Regions from separate parts of the Homo sapiens genome. Here region 2 is linked to region 1. The links are contacts of gene promoters, found by promoter capture Hi-C in human tissues and cell types (Jung and others, 2019). All regions are on one chromosome and are shown on one strand. Each heading gives the region's core, a stretch centred on a gene start or on the middle of the fragment in contact. The rest is flanking DNA. Distances are from core to core; before and after follow the strand shown.

The links. The method cuts DNA at HindIII sites, captures the fragments that hold promoters and counts their contacts. A contact is called where the count stands out against the background at its distance.
Region 2: a contact is called between a fragment that was not itself captured here and the fragment with the promoter of C5orf34 in region 1, in 1 of the 25 tissues and cell types used here (H1 embryonic stem cells).

Annotation. Positions count from the first base shown.
Region 1 is chr5:43,513,776-43,516,475 of GRCh38, forward strand. It overlaps C5orf34 (chromosome 5 open reading frame 34), which reads right to left and starts at 1,373. Exons shown (of 13, transcript NM_198566.4): 1 at 1,031-1,373. It overlaps LOC124900190 (a long non-coding RNA gene), which reads left to right. Exons shown (of 3, transcript XR_007058764.1): 2 at 418-2,700. RefSeq lists an enhancer at 981-1,140. The HindIII fragment of the contact is 12,650 bases long and covers 1-2,700 here.
Region 2 is chr5:43,142,897-43,145,596 of GRCh38, forward strand. The region is part of intron 4 of ZNF131 (zinc finger protein 131); the gene reads left to right. Among named protein-coding and RNA genes, the nearest start is that of ZNF131, 23 kb to the left of the region's middle. The HindIII fragment of the contact is 3,467 bases long and covers 1-2,700 here.

The sequences.
Region 1 (2,700 bases), core at 123-2,622:
CAAGGGCCCAACGACCAACTAAGTTAAAGTTACTCCCAAACATCTCCCAATCATTTGTCATCCCTCTTCAAGTTTTTTCTTCATAGAATCTATCATCAAAATTGATTATTTACTTGCTTTTTATTTTCTCCCACTAGGATATAAAGTCAACCGAAGCAGGGGCCTTATCTGTCTTATATGTAACAGTATCTCTGGCATCTAAAACAGTATTAGGCAAATAGTAAATGGCACAATAAATATTTGAATGATGAAAAATAAGTAAACTGCTCCTCTTGAATTTGCAATTTGAATTAATGGTGTCTCATTGTTAGCAGCCAATATTCTAAAACTTGACTTTCCACTCCATGCCCCTGTAACAAGTCCTGTTGATTTTCTGTCTTTGGAACCTGACTCTCTCTACCTCTTTCTCTTTTTCAGGCCATAGACTCTCCAACTCCTGCAACTGTCTGGAATTTCTTCTCTCTCCAATCCATCTCTAGTATTGATGACATAGGTAACTTTCCACAAGTCACACCATACCAAGTGCTTTACATCACCTGTTTACGTACTTATCAAATGGCAATATAGATTACAGATATATATATAAACACACACGTATATATCGGGTATGTCTACTTGGTATTTTAGGGGAAAAAACGGGTGCTGATACATAGATGGAAGACATTTTCTGATTCCAATTTGGGAAAAATAGTCTATCTTTGGTCAGGTCTTTTTTTTAATAGCTTTACTGAGGCGGTTTTCTAATTTTAAATAATCAAGCATACACAACAAACAGTGTAATGACTAAGGTTCTTGGCATACCATAGGAAACCATAACCCGGCTCCAACCCACACTGCCATTCTCATCTCTACAGTCTCATTCCCGCTTGCGTTCTCATCACCCAGCACATTACGTCAGGGTATGTTTAACACTCAAAAATCCACAAGTCTGTTCTTGACATGAATGAGAATCTCATTTCTTTCAAAATGCTATAGTCTCTAGTTACAGAAGGAGCCTGATCAAAACAACCACCAAAAGTCTTCCACTCACAGCAGTTCGGAGCCGAAAAGTTGCGGAAATGAGGCCCAGCAACGGTCCCTGGCTTTGATTTGCCAAAATGCTCTGGAAGCCGCAGCGTCGGCGCCTGCCCACCACTGCTTCTTCAGGGGTTTCTTCAGTTTGACAAATTACCAGCGAGTGATATTTCTTGGTGAAAGAAAAAAATCACAACCCTAGAGGAATAAGGTGGCAGGGAGAGTGTTTTGGCCAAGATGCCCGCCACGAAACAGGAAAGCGGAGACAGCGCCAACTGTAACCACTAAGAGAAAGCGCAAACCGCACAAGACCAGTTCAAAACCAGCGCCCTCAGGGAGCCGCTTCAGAGCTCCGCAACAGGGAAGACAGGAAGTCCCGCCCCTCCACAACAGGAAGGGCCGGAAGTCCCGCCCCTCCACTCCGGAGGCTGCCCTCGCTGCGTTCCCTACGAAGGGCGGAGCAGGAATTGGTGTAGGAAGGGGACGGGTGTTTCCTTGTTCGGAATGGGGTTGGCTCCTCTTTGATTTTTTACTTCTGGTGACCCACGCAAAAGCAGTCCCGACCTGGTTGTATTAATAATAAAGGCTGTAAGGATCAGCCTTTTGAACGGTCCAGCCGAGAACTAACCACAGAGCGCGTTTTAGTGGAGTGGTACTTATTTTTAAATAAGGTAAAAAACGATTATACTTCAGTAAAGCTGTTTAGAAAAAAAAAAACTTGGCCAAAGATGGAGAACTCTTCCTAATTTGGTATCAGAAAATAGGTCGTCTATGTATCTGCACCTTTTTTCCTTATAAAGTGGCAAATAAATGTGTCTGCTATATTTATTGCCACTAAACAAGTGTTTATGGAACACTCACTGTGTGTTTAGGCATAGTGGGGATAAAGCAGGGAAGGTGGCCCAGTTCTTTGCGGGTGAGGATCAGAGCTAGAGATTAACTGGAAAGAAAGAATAAACAATCATTTATTACAGTTGTGAGTGTTTCTAAGATAAAATACAGAGGTTTGTGAGAGCATAGAGAGGCATACCTTGTTTTATTGTGCATTTTATTGTGCTTTGCAGATACTGAGTTTACTACAAATGGAAGGTTTGAGGCAACCTTGATGGAGCAAGTGTATGGGTGCCATGTTTTTCCAACATCATGTGCTCACTTTGTGTCTCTGACATATTTTGGTAATTCCCACAATATTTCAAACTTTTTCATTATTTTTGTATCTGTTAGAGTGATCTGTGTGATCACTGATCTTTGATGTCACTACTGTAATTGTTTTGGGGGACCACAGATCATGCTCATACATTATAAAATGGCGAACTGAATCTGTTACAGGTAGTTAGGCATGAGCAAGGCAGGAGAGGGCTCTCCCCTGCCACCCACCCACTAGAAATGTTGGGTGATGGTTCAGCAATTATCACATGGCCTCTCTAAAAATGAAAATTTGGCAGCGCCAGGGAAAGGCCATTTCCTGATGGCCCACACCTGTTAACATCAAAATGTTAATTGAATGCAGGCCCCAGAGAGAAGCAACTTCCTGGGCATGCCGGTTAAGAGACAAAAGTGATGAAGTATGATTTTTCTGATACACTCCACCGGAAAAAGGAAGAAAGCCTCAGATGGGCATGTGTATAAATCCATAAAATCACTGTGTGTGCTCACTTCCCAAGGGTAAAGAGGGCTCTGAGCATG
Region 2 (2,700 bases), core at 77-2,576, 370 kb before region 1:
TGCCCAGGCTACTAGTCTCGAACTCCTGGGCTCAAGAGACGTGGCCACCTCAGCCTCTCAAAGTGCCGGGATTGCAGGCATAAGCCACCATACTTGGCCAGACATGGTTTCTTTTTTTAATCTTTCAAGCTTTTTTTTTTTTTTTTGAAGACAGAGTCTCACTGTTACCAGGATGGAGTGCAGTGGCGTGATCTCGGCTCACTGCAACCTCTGCTTCCCGGGTTCAAGCGATTCCTTTGCCTCAATCTCCCGAGTAGCTGGGACTACAGGCACACGCCACCACGCCCAGCTAATTTTTGTATTTTTAGTAGAGATGGGGTTTTCACCATGTTGGCCAGGATGGTCTCATCTCTTTACCTTGTGATCTGCCCGCCTCTGCCTCCCAAAGTGCTGGGATTACAAGCACGAGTCACTGCGCCCGGCCTCAAGCTTTTATTTAAGTGCAGTGATCCAGGATGGATTTTAGATCTTGTTGAAAGCAGCCACATCCATGGACTGCACATAGTCCTCAAAAGCAGTGATCTGCTTCTCCACTGTTGCAAGTTTATCATCTTCAACTACACGCTGTATTTGAAGTTTCTTAATTTCCTATCCCACTGGAACTAGTTTAGATGAGCCAGACATCGTTTCTTATTGTTGTTACTGGTTTAGTGACTTTCCTGGACTTCTGTAATCCCTTTCCTGTAATTCTGTACAGTCTACATTTTGTGTGTATGGCCACTGAAGTCTGCATAGGTAGTTTACTGAACAAACTGATCATTGGACAGAAATTTTCTTAAAAGTCTTAAACCAGTAAGTCTCCACATTTTTGTTGGGGAGCTCTTTATAGGGTACACCATCAGTGTCCCATCAAGCAGTTTACAACTGCTTTAGCCTTTACTTCCTGTGTTAACAGAACCTCAAGGTCAGATAGAGATGAGAGTTGCTAAGGTCTTTCCTGGACATGTATACAGCTCTGTGCATGTGTATGGCCCTCTAGGTTCTCTGGAATATTGTCAGAGCTTTTTTTTTTTTTTTTTTTTTTTTTTTTTTTTTTTTTTCCTTGAGACGGAGTCTCGCTCTGTCCCCAAGACTGGAATGCAGTGGTGCGATCTTGGCTCACTGCAAGCTCCACCTCCCAGGTTCACGCTATTCTCCTGCCTCAGCCTCCCGAGTAGCTGGGACTACAGGCACTCGCCACCACGCCCAGCTAATATTTTGTATTTTTAGTAGGGACGAGATTTCACTGTGTTAGCCAGGATGGTCTCGATCTCCTGACCTCGTGATCCACTTGTCTCGGCCTCCCAAAGTGCTGGGATTACAGGCGTGAGCCACGGCGCCTGGCCTTTTTTTCTTTCTTTCTTTTTTTTTTTTTTTTTTTTTTTTTTTTTTGGAGACAGAGCTTTGTGTTGGCACGATCCTGGCTCACCGCAACCTCCGCCTGCCAGGTTCAAGTGATTCTCCTGCCTCAGCCTCCTGAGTAGCTGGGATTATAGGCGCTCACCACCACGCCCAACTAATTTTTTTTACTTTTGGTAGAGTCGGAGTTTCACCATGTTGGCCAAGCTGGTCTTGAACTCCTGACCTCAGGTGATCCACCTGCCTTGACCTCCCAAAGTACTGGGATGACAGGCATGAGCCATCACGTCCAGTCTGTCAGAGCTTTTTAAAGCCCCCTATGAACATCTCATTCTCCAGTTTTTCCTTTCAGTTTTTGTTCAGCTTCTTGATAGCCCAAACTTGTAATGCCACCACAGTAGTTGCAATGATAAACAGTTGCCATTGATTGTTTTTTGACAAATGTCTTGTGTTTAAGGCTATTTGAAAAGTGAGCTGTGGGTCAGATCAAATCTCCAAATATTTTATCCTGTCTTAGATTTATGTTTTAAGGAAGTGGTACACGTAAAGCTCTTAAAACAATATCTGCCACATAATAACATGATTATGCATATGTTCTTTTCATTTCTTGGAATGCCATCTGTCTGCTTGTTCATGGCAAAATTTTACTCATCTTTCTGGTCTCAGGTGAGAGCCAACAACCTGTTCTCTGAAGCTTTTCCTTACTGAGCCAAGCAGATTGACTTAGGCACTTCTATTATTCTGTATTTTTATGTTTTACATTTTCCATTACAACAATAATCATATTAGTGTTCCCACATTTTTCTAATAGTCTCCAACCTCTCTGAGGCAGGGATTATGTGTTTTTTTCATCTTCAGGAGGCATTTGTGGATGGGTTTGAAAAACTACCTCGAAATTATGCCTCTGAGACTCAGTTGCCAGGTTTATGTCCATTCCGTCATAAGCCTCTAAAATCTCTTTCCTTGCTGTTCAGTTGTGAATACAGGCTGGCTTATCCCACTCTGCAAAACAAAAGCCTGGTAGGAGCACTTTTTCTTGTTCTTTAATTACTCCTGTTTGGGATAGGGATCTGAGTTCAGAGGTCATACCTATAGTTAAGACAAGCATAAGAAAACTGGCTAAGAAGTAGTTTACGGCCTGGGTGCAGTGGCTTATGCTTGTAATTCCAGCACTTTGGGAGGCCAAGCCAGGTGGATCACTTGAGGTCAGGAGTTTGAGACCAGCCTGGCCAAAATGGTGAAACATCGTCTTTACTAAAAATACAAAAAATTAGCCGGACATGGTGGCACGCCCCTGTAATCCCAGTTTTCACAAGGCTGAGGCAGGAGAATCGCTTGAATCCGGGAGGCGGAGGTTGCAGT